5 separate regions of the Homo sapiens genome follow, and all the other regions are linked to region 1. Evidence: promoter capture Hi-C in human tissues and cell types (Jung and others, 2019). All regions are on one chromosome and are shown on one strand. The core of a region is centred on a gene start or on the middle of the fragment in contact, and the rest is flanking DNA. Distances in the headings are between cores, read along the strand shown.

The links. The method cuts DNA at HindIII sites, captures the fragments that hold promoters and counts their contacts. A contact is called where the count stands out against the background at its distance.
Region 2: a contact is called between the fragment with the promoter of RAB4B-EGLN2 here and the fragment with the promoter of CIC in region 1, in 1 of the 25 tissues and cell types used here (pancreas).
Region 3: the fragment with the promoter of ZNF428 here is called in contact with the fragment with the promoter of CIC in region 1 in 1 of the 25 tissues and cell types used here (psoas muscle).
Region 4: a fragment that was not itself captured here is called in contact with the fragment with the promoter of CIC in region 1 in 1 of the 25 tissues and cell types used here (aorta).
Region 5: a fragment that was not itself captured here is called in contact with the fragment with the promoter of CIC in region 1 in 1 of the 25 tissues and cell types used here (pancreas).

What each region holds. Positions count from the first base shown.
Region 1 is chr19:42,267,999-42,270,511 of GRCh38, reverse strand. It overlaps CIC (capicua transcriptional repressor), which reads right to left and starts at 1,260. Exons shown (of 21, transcript NM_001386298.1): 1 at 1,131-1,260. RefSeq lists an enhancer at 1,761-2,270. The HindIII fragment of the contact is 15,630 bases long and covers 1-2,513 here.
Region 2 is chr19:40,776,962-40,779,474 of GRCh38, reverse strand. RAB4B-EGLN2 (RAB4B-EGLN2 readthrough (NMD candidate)) reads right to left here and starts at 1,256. Exons shown (of 12, transcript NR_037791.1): 1 at 1,084-1,256. It overlaps MIA (MIA SH3 domain containing), which reads right to left. Exons shown (of 4, transcript NM_006533.4): 3 at 2,396-2,506; 4 at 1,985-2,078. The coding sequence ends at 2,055. It overlaps RAB4B (RAB4B, member RAS oncogene family), which reads right to left and starts at 1,228. Exons shown (of 8, transcript NM_016154.5): 1 at 1,084-1,228. The coding sequence starts at 1,099. MIA-RAB4B (MIA-RAB4B readthrough (NMD candidate)) reads right to left here. Exons shown (of 10, transcript NR_037775.1): 3 at 2,396-2,506. RefSeq lists enhancers at 1-157, 1,045-1,114 and silencers at 1,175-1,414, 1,965-2,094. The HindIII fragment of the contact is 40,090 bases long and covers 1-2,181 here.
Region 3 is chr19:43,618,374-43,620,886 of GRCh38, reverse strand. It overlaps ZNF428 (zinc finger protein 428), which reads left to right and starts at 1,258. Exons shown (of 3, transcript NM_182498.4): 1 at 1,258-1,329. It overlaps LOC105372411 (a long non-coding RNA gene), which reads right to left and starts at 1,826. Exons shown (of 4, transcript XR_001753942.2): 1 at 1,255-1,826. RefSeq lists a silencer at 1,205-1,444 and an enhancer at 1,249-1,899. The HindIII fragment of the contact is 11,511 bases long and covers 1-2,513 here.
Region 4 is chr19:43,559,656-43,562,168 of GRCh38, reverse strand. It overlaps XRCC1 (X-ray repair cross complementing 1), which reads left to right. Exons shown (of 17, transcript NM_006297.3): 3 at 1,149-1,259. Among named protein-coding and RNA genes, the nearest start is that of XRCC1, 15 kb to the left of the region's middle. The HindIII fragment of the contact is 6,758 bases long and covers 1-2,513 here.
Region 5 is chr19:43,538,506-43,541,018 of GRCh38, reverse strand. No RefSeq gene overlaps it. Among named protein-coding and RNA genes, the nearest start is that of ZNF575, 6.6 kb to the right of the region's middle. The HindIII fragment of the contact is 6,429 bases long and covers 1-2,513 here.

The DNA.
Region 1 (2,513 bases), core at 11-2,510:
AGCTGCCCTGAGAAAAGAAAAGGGGAAAAAACTTTACTCTGAAGTGACTAAGAGAACCTGAGAGGCCAAAACAGAGGCCTCTAGGAGGGTTGGGGGACCCAGAACCATAAGCCAAACACAATGAGAGGCAACCCCGACTCAGTCTTCCAGCTACTGGGGGACCCTTGACCTCATGCTCTCTCACTAGGGGCCTGCTCCTCCTGTGGACCCTGGAGTCCCAGGCCTGCCCTTTCTTGGGCCAATCCTGGGGTCCTCACAGGCAGAGCCTGGAGGGCGTCCCGGGGCTGGCACCCAAATGCCCAGAAGTTGGGCAGCCATCACCACCTAATACCCGCTGACCCACTAGACTACCATGTTGGGGACTGAGATCTGGCTCCAGTTTTTTCCAAGCACAAACCTTTGCATACCCCACCCAGGGCCTACAACTATGCCGCCTGGACCCCTAGACCTTGCTGCCTGGCCCAGCCTCTCTTCGCCCCAGAGCTGCTTTCTTTCCCCTAGGGCCTACTCTCTTCCTGTCCACCCTGTCTGAATAACTCCCACCCAAGCCCCGGGGGCCCTCACCTTCCTCAGATCTGAGTAGTAACTCCCGGAGCCCAGGCCAGCCCAGGCCCTGGCTCTTTGGGGTCTCATACCCTCTGTTCCCATTAGCCCTCCTGGCACCAGCTTCTCTGACACTCTCTCTCTCATCCTGTCACTACCTCTATCTCTACCTCTCGGTTAAAATGCCCTAGGCCCCCTCCTGTCACCCCCTCCTTGTCACCCCCATTTATCTCTGTCACCTATTCCTCCCAGTCACTGTCCTGTCAGCCATCTCCGGACCTGTCACCTTCTCTCCCCATCACCTCTCCTTGTCACACTCTCCAACTCTGTCCCCTCCCTCTCCCTGTCACCCTGATCTAGTCCTGTCACCCCTCCATTCCTGTTACCCTTCTTTGCCCACCACCCCCTCCCCCAGTTACCCTTTTTCTGTCAAACCCCCACCACTTCCTCCACTCCCTCCTCCCTTCCCACCATTCCGCCCACCCCTTTCCCCCTGTACCCCCTCCCCGTCCCTGCCACCTGTCCCCTCTCGGCCCCCAGCCCCCCGGACCCCCCTTTCCTGTGTCAGCCCTGGCCCCGCCCCTCACCTTGGGCTCGGCGGGGTTTCGGGGCGGGGGGCCGTGGCCCCGGCTCGGTCCGGTCCGGTCCCTCCCCGCCCCCCCTCCGGCTCTCCCTCTCGATTCTCCCTTTTTTTTTTACTCCAACACACAAAATGGTGAATGGACCTGCAACAGCTGGAGCAGCCAGCCAATCAGCGATCACAACCCCACTGACCGGCGCCAGCCTAGACCAATAGATATCCGCAGACTGGTCGGCTCCGCCTCTCGACGACGAGCGACGCTCGCGGCGACCAATTGGGCCCATCGGGCAGCGCTAGGGGGCGGGGCCAAAGTCCAAGACCGGCCTCCCTCCGGGACCGACACCAACCTGAGCCTACGACTGCCTGATCTGCCTAGGGCCCTACCCTACAACAAGTGAAGGACACCAGTCGTGTCCAATTGCAGGCCGTCTTAGTTCCAAATGACAAATACAGTACCCAGTCGCCATGCAGCCTAGGCCGGAACCCAGCCTCTGTGAGGGACAGTAGCCAATGAAATGAAAGGAGGAGGGGCTAAGGGACGGGTTGTCCAATGAACGGAGGTAGAAGGCGTGGCCCGAACGTTTGTTGACCGGCTAGTCGCAGTTCCTGCTGGGAACCGTAGTCTTCTCACGTCTTCGGCCCATAGCCGACAGTACAAGGCAGACTACAACTCCCATGTGACAGAGTGCTTGGAGCACCAAAGAAACCCGGCGAGGAGAAAAAGTCGAAAAGGGCAGTTCGTCGTGAGTCTCACTGGACGCCAGGAGTATCTTAGACCCAGGGCCCCGACTCACCCGTATTCCTGGCTCTGGCGTCGCCGGTGGCTCCTCTCAGTGGCAGCGGTAGCGGCACGAGGGGGAGGTGCAAGGAGCAGCCAACCGCCACCCGCGAGCCCCGCAGCCAATCAGCAGCGGCCGGGGCGGTGCAATGACCTCACCGGTTCTACTCTCTTACCCCTCCCCCACGTGGTTGTTGCTGCCGGTAGACGGAGTAGGGAAGTTTGGATTGGGGGAGGGGAGGAGAACCAGTGATGTCACCTTTCCCCTTGTTGATTGGCTGCCGGGTGGCCGGGACTACGACCAATTGACGGTCTCGAAAAGTCTGGCGCGGCCCCGCGGAAAGCCCTGTTGCCACCGGGAGGGGAGAGAACGCGCGCTTGTGGGGTGTCGCGCGCTGCAGTATAGGCAACGCGCGCGGCCTGGGGCCCGGGGGACAGGTCACCTCCTCCAAGAGTTTGACATTTAGGACAGCGCAGTTTGACAGCCCACTAGGCATTGGGGCAGGGGGCCGAGATGACGAAATGCAGCGCTTCTTGGGGCTTCGCACTGCATTACGTGGAGAGCTACACTTTGTGGGTGTACGCCCCTGACAGAGGCAGATTTTTAAAGAT
Region 2 (2,513 bases), core at 7-2,506, 1.5 Mb after region 1:
ACCGCGCCCAGCCCACATGTGCAGGTTTGTTACATGGGTCAATTGTGTGTTGTTGTGGGCCAGGAACAGTTCTAAAGGTCTTTACTCACATCAACAGCTCACATCATCCTCAGGAAAACTCTATGAGGGAGGTAGACTAAAAATTATTCCCATTTTCCGGATGAGGTAACAGGCCAGAAAGGTTAACTGACTTGCCCAAAGTGACACAGCTGGGCAGAAGTGAGATTCAAACCTAGGCCAAGGGCTCCAGAGTCCCAGATCTTAGCTATTTTGTCGCTAAAGTCTCTTGAAAGCTATTTAAACAAGGACTACGATATAGCCCTTGTTCCTCTTCACCTCCTACCACCCTCTGACTCATTCACTCCACTATAGCTCCTGACCTTCAGTCTATTCCCTGAAAATGACAAGCTGGTTCTCACCTCAGGGTCTTTGCACTCTTCTCCCTTCTCTTCTATATTTGTTGAGTGAATGCGGCTCCCTCTGACTCCTAAACCTGCACTTCCCCTGCCTCCAATCACCACCTCCTATGGTGCATCCCTACTGATTTTCCACTTCCCGACCTCTCCTTCCCTCCCTCTGCCCAGAACCCGGCTCCATTCTCATGCATAAGTCCCACCCTTTGCCACTAAGTCCTGCCCCTAACTCAAGGACAGCCCATCCCCAAACCCATTCCAGAGCTCTCTCCAGCCAGATCAGCCCCAGGGTCCCGAGCTTCCATTCAGTGTTCCCTCTAGCCCATAAGCCCGACTCCTGCCATTCATGCAGTCAGCCCCGCCCCTTCACTCAGGCTCCGCCCAGATCCATTAAGGCCCACCTCTTCCCTCAGGGCCTCCCTGAACCCCTCAGGACCAGCTCCCTCAAATCCCGCCCCAGATCTATTTAACCCACGCACCAGACCCTCAGGCTCCACCTAAATCGATTAAGCTCAGCCTCAGACCCACTAAACCCCTCCCAGCATCCACTTAGGTCCTGCCTCCATCACACCAGACCCCGCCCCCTGATCTACAAAGCCCCGCCCATTCCCACAGGCCGCATCCTCCCTGGGCCCAGACCCAGGACCCCAGCTTCGTCCACCACCCTCACCGTAGGTCTCAGCCATGACTCGGTCGCGGCCGCTGAGGGCCGCAATATGGCGCCGCGGCCGCGCCTGCTCCTCGGCTGGCAGCCGCTCCACTCCGGCTACAGCCCCGGCTCCTTCCTACTCCCCGGGCCCGGCACCGCCACTTCCGCCTCCGCCCCCCTCCGGCGCGACCCGCTCCGGCAGCTGGATACCAGGCGACGCTTTCCGAAGGGCGGGATTGGCGGACTCGCGGGCAGGGGGCGGGACAAGAGGCGCGGATTGGTGGCGTGAGAAGGACCAAGCCCAAAGGGGCGGGGCCGAGCCCAGCGATTGGCTGAGCAAGTGGGAAGGGACGTGCAGAGCTGCTTAGCTGAGCCGAGGAACGGATTTAGTCTGGAGTACGGGGGGCAGAGTCGAGTCTCCGGATTGGATCGGAGCGGACTTGGGGGAGGGGATACAAATGCAAAGAAGGGGGCACGGGCAGGATTGACAGAAAGAGGCTGGAAGAGGAGCTGATCTTGAGCTGGCGGGAGCGATTACTGTTCTCAAAGGCGAAAAGGAGGAAAACTGGGCAGATAGGCGCAGGTTACTTCCCACCTCCCTTTCCAGATAATCTTCCAAGAAAACCTTTACTGTGCGATTTATATCCTCCGCGTAGTCCGATTGGCTCCCTCCCACTGGTCTAGAGAGGACACTACAATCCCCTAGTTGGGCTGCTTAGGTTTTCCTTTGCTTGTGTCCGAAACCTAAGCTTAGGAGCGCTCCTACTGCACAGGGCTTTCATCAGTGAAACTCTGCCTAGCAACCACTGACGTTACCACAGGCAGCGGGTTAATTGGTTAGATTCAGCAACCTAGAGAAACATTTCATTTGTACAGTCCCCACCCTACCCTACCCCACCCCAAAGACCACGGAGACGAGCCGTTTGCACTGGGCTGATTGTATTTGCATAAAGCCAAGGAGGGGAAACGGCAGGGCCAGCGGTAGGCTGAGCTCACTGGCAGTAGAAATCCCATTTCTGAAAAAGAGAAAGGGGAAACAGTGGAAAGAAAACCAGCGGTCACACCACAAAGGATCTAGTGGTTTTAGCAAAGGCTGCAGCTGCAGGGCCCAGGTCTGGCCACACAAGTGCTATGCAAATTAGCCTAGAGCCCTCTAATCTTTGCACCTCCCAACTGGACCCATTTTACTGGTGAGAAAATTGAGGCAGGGAAAGAATTTCTCCCAGCGCACATACCTAGGCTGCCAGGGAGCCAAGTGTGGGAGCATTTTTGCCCATCCCCACAACCTAAGGGTCCTCCCCCCACATTTCTTGCCAGCCCCCATGACACTCACGTCTGTCTTCACATCGACTTTGCCAGGTTTCAGGGTCTGGTCCTCTCGGACAATGCTACTGGGGAAATAGCCCAGGCGAGCAGCCAGATCTCCATAGTAATCTCCCTGAACCTGGGGA
Region 3 (2,513 bases), core at 9-2,508, 1.4 Mb before region 1:
ATTCAAAGGTCAGAGGGAAAAGCATTTTCAGGCGGAGGGAACGGCAAGAGCAGAGGCCCGAGCTGGTAAAGAGTTTGGGGTAAGGTGGAGCTGGACAGAAATGGAGGGAGGAGGAAGTAGGTGGGGTCAGAAAGATAAGCACGGCCAGACCAGGTGTATAGCCCTGAGGCCATGATAAAGATTTTTGGATTTTTTTTTTTTCCTAATGGGATCCCTTTGGGGGAGTTTTAAGCCAGAATGTGACAAAGTCACTTACAGGAAGACTGGAATGTAGCCATAGTTGAACTCTAACATCGTCTATAGAACCATTTCCCGTCTCCAGTTAGGTTCTAGGCATACTAAGCTGCTCTTGCTTCCTCAATCAAAACATGCGCTTCTATTTTTTTTTTTTTTTTTTTGGCCTCTGGGCCTTGGCGCTTGCAGTTCATTCTGCCAGACCCATTCCCATTCTAGTTGGCTCCTATTCGTACTTGGCTTAAGGATCACCACCTCCTGGAAGTCTTTCTAGAACCAGAGGCCGGGGCAAGCGCCTCTTAGGCTCCCACAGCCCCCTGTGTTCCTCACTCCAGGTCTGACCTTCTGGGTAGTAGTTGTCTAATTAGGTGCGTATCTCCTTCGACTGGGGTGCCGTGAGTACAGGAGTATGGTTCACTGCAGAAACCACAGAATCCGCCAGCATGGGGCCTGACACCTAGGAGATCAATAAACCTTTATCCTGGTTGGGAGGGGTCCTGGCCCTCGTGCCCTCTCTCAGGATGCAAACTGATCCCCTACGAAGACAAGGCTACCCACTTCGCGTCAGTCTGCAGTCCCTGCGCGCATGCGCTTTGCTCAGGTTGCCCCCGCCATATGCTAATCACTGCGCTCTGGAGTAAGGCCCCTCCGGGGAATATGCAAATCACTCCTTCCAGTGCGGGAGGCCTTTCATTGTCCCGCGCTAGGATTATGCAAATAAGCAGGCCTCGGGCCCAGGATCCAGTCCGAACTAGCGCCCTCCACCCCCAGCGCATCCCAGTTTTGTAAGGCGCGTTCCTGCCCCGCACACGCACGCGCGAACCCTTCAGCTTCTTGTTCCTTTGGGCCGCGGGCTGTACCAAGTAAACCCAGGCAGCGAGGGGCAAAGCACGGCGCCCCCCGCGCGGGTCTCGTCGACGGCCCGACGCGCATAGCCCCTCTTCCCACAGCGCTACAGGACTAGTCCGTCTCGCCGCGCAAGCGCCCTAGGCTCTTCACGCCCCCTGCGCGCTGTCCTACCCTACTTGCGACGCAGGCGCAGAGGCTGGGCGTGCAGCCGCCGCCGCAGAGCCGGAGCGGGGGCCGCCGGCGCCGGTGAGTGTCCCGGGCAGGGGTGCGCGAGGCATGCCGGGAAGCGGGCGCTACGGCCCCGCTGCATGATGGGAGCGACGACTCCCGTCACCGGGGAGCCGGCGGTCTGGGGCCGTGGTGACCCGAGGGCTTCTTTTTCTCCCCCTACGCGTTTGTGCCGCCCTGGGGCATCCTGGGAGAACCGAGCGCTCCGCCTTGAAGCGCTGTGGGAGTCGGTCCGCTAGTCGTAGGCCTGGTGCATCCTGGGAAAGAGTGTCCCAGATCCTTGTCGAGACCGGTTCCTTTTATCCCACACCTGCCGCTGACCGTCCTGGAGGCTTGGAGCGCTTCCACACGGGGAGTCTGGGAAGGTGGTCGCTATAGGCCTAAGGCATCCTGGGAAGAACTGCCACAACGAATTGTGGGAACTGGCCGTTATTGTCCCGTAGTGGAAGGTTTTGCCCTGGTCTCTTTGCTCGAGCATTGGAACGGGTGCCTATTGTGTTCACGCGGGGCATCTTGGGAATTGACTGCTATAGGCCCAGGGCATTGTGGGGTCTCCAGCACTGTGTTTGCCTTTCAGTTTGGCTGCCATAGGCGTGGTAGGAGTGGGACTTGTGAACCAAGGGATGGCCCTACCTGACGTCTGGAATACTCTGGAAGGGGCCTTGTGTGACGTGGGCTTGGAAAAGTGTAGGCTGATGGGCATTGTCTCCTGGTAACTTCAGGGAATGTCTTGATTGTCCCAGGTGTGTGGTTGCCGTATAAAATATACAATGTCTAGTTAAATTTGAATTTCAGATAAACAATTATATCCAAAAGATACAACCTTTTAGAAAAGTATGTCCCAAATATCACATGGAACATAGCTATATTAATTCTTTGGGCTAGTTGCAGTGATACCAATACTTTGGGAGGCTAAGGCAGGAGGATCGCTTGAGACCAGGAGTTCAAGACCAGCCTGGGCAATATAGTGAGACCCCCGTCTCTACAAAAAAAAAAAAAAAAAAAAAAAGTAAAAATTAAGCCTGGCATGGTGGCGCATACCTGTAGTCCCAGCTGCTCTCCTAGGGGCTAGTAGGGTACCTTGAGCACAGGAGTTTGAGGTTACAGTGAGCTAACCTCCCAACCTGGTTATGGGGGAGTACATGAGTTAAGGCCTGGAAGCCCCTTTCCTACAGATCACCCTACTGCACTCCAGCCTGGGC
Region 4 (2,513 bases), core at 10-2,509, 1.3 Mb before region 1:
TGGTTTTTTTTTTTTTTTTTTTTGTGACAGAGTCTCGCTCTGTCACCCAGGCTGGAGTGCAGTGGCATGATCTCTGCTTACTGAAACCTCTGCCTCCTAGGTTCAAGAGATTCTTGTGCCTCAGCCTCTTGAAGAGCTGGGACTACAGGCATGTGTCACCATGCCCGGCTATATTTTATATTTTTAGTAGAGAAGGGGTTTTGCCATGTTGGCCAGGCTGGCCTCAAGTGGTCCACTGCCTTGGCCTCGCAGAGTGCTGGATTTACAGGCTTGAGCCACTGCACCTGGCCCAGGTACCTTTGAGAGTTGTAATAATGCGTCATTCTAGGATCCTAATAAAAGAGCCCCAAACTGGAAGGCAGGACACTTGCCTCAACCTAACTGCCTCCCGTGCCCGCATGGCCCGCACGGCTTTCTGCATCTTCATCTGTCAGACAGGAATGGCAGATCCTTTGAGATGAGCCCTCCTATAGGTAGCTCTTTTCTTCTTTCAACAAATAGTTGTCTAGCACTGACTAATAATACCTCCTGACTGACAGCAGATAATTGCCTACTCTTCGCCATGCCCTGTGGCCATTATTTATGTGCATGATCCTAGATATGGTGGTCATTCCCATTTTACAGATGAGAAAACTGAGGCTCCAAAAGGTTAACTGGTATGGTCATACAGCTAGTGTGCAGCACAGCTGGGATTCAAACCCAGGAACCAGCGGTGAGCAAGATCGGACAAAGCCCCTGCCCTCAGGGAGGTTTCCTGGAGTCCTCTGCGATTGTGGGTGAGGGGTGACATGTGCTGTTTGTCTGCATGATGATTTGAATAAAGTTATAACTCTGGCAAGTGCTTATCAAGGAGAGCTCTATGGCAGTGTGTGATAAGCTGACCTGGTGGAGTCTGGAGAGGTCAGGGAAGCAGGTATGTGTGAGGTGGGCGCGTATGCATTCATTCAGTGACTATTTTGTGAGTTTCTGCTCCATGCCATACCCTGTGCTGCATGGAGGGGACACATGGCACCATTCAACCCTGGTGTGCCCCCTCACAGAATTGACATTACAGGGACATGGTGATCCAAAGGAGATTCATCCTGAGGTCCCACAGTGAGCCCAGAGGCAGAGCAGGCACTGACAGTGGCCTCTCTCTCTGCCCACAGTTGGAGAAGGAGGAGCAGATACACAGTGTGGACATTGGGAATGATGGCTCAGCTTTCGTGGAGGTGCTGGTGGGCAGTTCAGCTGGAGGCGCTGGGGAGCAAGACTATGAGGTAAGCAGGGCTATGAGATGGATCCCATACTGACCTCTGCCCCTCATGCTCGCATCACCGTCTCCCCCAGGGGCTGGGGCTGGGAAGACATGGGGCAGATGTGAGTCACACCTGATTGCTGCCCTCTGGAGGATCACCCAGTGTACGGAGGAGACAGAAGGCAGACACAGGGCGGTAAACTGCACATCAGGGAAGAGAGCAAGTTTGGATCATGGCTTAAAATGACACAAATGTATTATTCGACTGTTCTGGAGGTCAGAAGTCTGAAATCACTCTCACTGGGCTAAAATCTAGGTGTAGGCAGAGCCCTGTTCCTTCTGGAGGCTCTAGGGGAGAATCCATTTCCTTGCCTATTTCAGCTTCTAGAGTCCATCTGCCCTCCTCAGCTTGTGACCCTTCCTTCATCAAAGCCAGCACTCCTGTCACTCTAACGCCTGCTTCCACTTCCATTGTTACTTCTCCAACTCTGACTCTCTTGCCTTCTTTTTTTCTTTTTCTTTTTTTTTTTTTGAGACGGAGTCTCGCTCTGTCGCCCAGGCTGGAGTGAGTGCACTGGCGCGATCTCAGCTCCTTGCAACCTCTGCCTCCCGGGTTCAAGCTATTCTTCTGCCTCAGCCTCCCGAGTTGCTGGGACTACAGGTGCCCACCACCACGCCCGGCTAACTTTTTTTTTTTGTATTTTTAGTAGAGACGGGGTTTCACCATATTGGCCAGGCTGGTCTCGAACTCCTGACCTCGTCATCTGCCCGCCTCAGCCTCCCAAAGTGCTGGGATTACAGGCGTGAGCCACTGCGCCTGGCCTTCTTTTTCTTTTGTTCATTTTTTTTTGAGACAGGGTTTCATTTCCGTTGCCCAGGCTGGAGTACAGTGGCGTGTTCTCAGCTCACTGCAACTTCTGCCTCTGAGGTTCAAGTGATTCTCCCACCTCAGCCTCCCAAGTAGCCAGGGCTACAGGTGCACACCACCACTCCTGGCTAGCTTTTGTTATTTTTTATAGAGAGAGGGTTTCACTGTGTTGCCCAGGCTGGTCTCAAACTCCTGGGCTCAAGTGATCCACCCACCCCAGCCTCCCAAAGTGCTAGGATTACAGGCATGAGCCACCACACCCAGCCCTCCTTTCTTATAAAGACCCTTATGATGACACTTGGCCTACCCGGATAATCCAGGGGCATCTCCCCCATTTCAACATCTTCAAGTTCATCACATCTGCAAAGTGCCTTCTGCCACATTTCCAGGTTCAGGGATTAGGATGTA
Region 5 (2,513 bases), core at 6-2,505, 1.3 Mb before region 1:
TTGGCCAGGCAGGTCTCGAACTCCTGACTTCAGGTGACCCACTCGCCTCAGCCATTCAAAGTGCTGGATTACAGGCGTGAGCCACTGTGCCCAGCTGGGATGTGAACATCTTTGGGAGGCCATTACTCTGCCTACCAAAGCCACCATGTGGGGGACACTGGGAAGACAGTATGAAAAAAACAGTAGTCCCCGATCTCATTGGCCTGACATTGTACAGGGGGAGAGAGATGGTGCACGTGCAATGCAACCTTGGACAGTGGGAAATGCTGTGAGAGCAAGGAAAATAGAGCATTGTGAGTGACAGAGCAATGGCAGGGTCCTGGTAGTTTATAGATAGGATGATTGGGGATGGCCTCTTGGAGGACTTACCCCTCTGCAGGGACCTGGGAGAAGTAAGGAGTATCTGAGAGAGCCCTTCCAGGTAGAGGAAAAGCAAGTGCAAAGGCCCCGAGGCAGGAGCGAGCATTATGTGTTCAAGGAACAGCTGGGTGGGTGTCAGGCTATCAAGAGACCTAGGATCCACCTAGACTCAGGTACTGCCCTGTGGTTTGGTTGCCAATAAATCTCATCTTTCCTGGCCTCATTTCCCCAATCTGTAAAAGTAAGGTTGGACCAGATCAACGCCCTCTCACATGAGTATGTGTCTTTGAAATTTTGCTGCTGGTGTGGTTGCTTTGGAGAAATTCTTCCGGACAGTTCTCTGCATAAACGTGGATACAAGCAGCACTGCTGGGTTGGGAGGACAGAGTAGAACCCTTACCCCTCCCAAAACCTTCCCCGAAATGCCTTACTGAGTAGAGTGCAGTTCAGCAGCCTGCTCAGTCCTAGCCCTTAGGCTGGACACTTTCTTTTCTCCTACTTTTATTTTAAGTTCGGGGGTACATGTGCAGGATGTGCAGTTTTGTTTCATAGGTAAATACATGCCATGGTGGTTTGCTGCACAGATCATCCCATCACCTGAGTATTAACCCCAGCGTGCATTAGGTATACTTCCTGATGCTCTTCCTAGCCCCCCACCCCCACCCCCTGACAGGCCCCAGTGTGTGTTGTTCCCCTGATGTGTTCTTTTTTTTTTTTCTGAGGCAGAGTCTCACTCTGTCGCCCAGGCTGGAGTGCAGTGGCATGATCTTGGCTCACTGCAACCTCTGCCTCCTGGGTTCAAGGGATTCTTGTGCCTCAGCCTCCCGAGTAGCTGGGATTACAGGCGTTTGCCACCACGCCCAGCTAATTTTTGTTTTTTAGTAGAGGGGGGTTTTGCCACGTTGGCCAGGCTGGTTTTGAACTGACCTCAGGTGATATGCCCGCCTCCACCTCCCAAAGTGCTGGGATTACAGGCGTGAGGCACCATGCCCGGCCATGTCCATGTGTTCTCATCATTCAGCTCCAACTTATAAGTGAGAACATGCAGTGTTTGATTTTCTGTTCCTGCGTTAGTTTGCTGAGGATAATGGCTTCCAGCTCCATCCATGTCCCTGCAAAAGATGTGATCTCATTCCATTTTATGGCTGCATAGTATTCCGTGGTGTATATGTACCAAATTTTCTTTATCCAATCTATGGACACTTTCTACTCTCTCACTCCTTCCACCACAACTTTCAGATCTCAGTTCAGACATTACATCCTCAACAAGGCCTTTCCTAACCTCCACTGTATAATAGGATATGCCAGGTACACACTCTTAAAATACTATATCTCATCCATCCTAGTCATAACTTTACATTCATTTATGGTCACATTTACCCATGTTTTCATCTATGATTTACATTCTTTTGTCTCTTAAGGATACTGTCTCTACTTCTGGAGTTACTAAGATAATTCTTCTTATTTCCATGTAAATATTTTTGAGTTCTTCTCTTCAGATTTAGATCTTAAACTCCCAGAAACTTGTTTTTGCATATGGTGTGAGGTAGGGATCTGCAGTAGTTTCCCATTGTTGCTGTAACAAATTGCCATAAGCTTAGTGGTTTTAAACTACACAAGTTAATTTTATTATAGTTCTGGAGGTCAGTAGTCCAAAATCAGCCTTATTGGGCTAAAATCAAGTGTCAGCAGGGCTGCAATCCTTCTGGAGGCTCTAAGGAGGAATTTATTTCCTTGCCCTTTGTAGGCAAAATTCCTTGACTTGGGGCCTTTCATCACTCGAATGTTTGCTTTCATGATCACCTCTCTCTGTCTTCTGCGTCCTTCTTTCCCATATAAGGACCTTTGTGATTATATTGGGCCTATCTGAATAATCAGGATAACTTACCCATCTCAATCACATCTGCAATGTCCCTTTTGCTACATGCAAGCTAACATACAGGTTCTGGGGATTCAAATGTGGATATCTTTGGGGGATCATTCTTCTACATACCAGGGGATTCAACTTAATTTTTCCCCATGTCTCTTAGCCTTATTTATGATTAGTCTGTCCATCCTCCACTCATCCATGTCAAGGCTCAACAAACTATAGCCCATAGGCAAAATCCAGCCTACCTAGTGTTTTGGTAAATGTTTATTGGAACACAGCCATG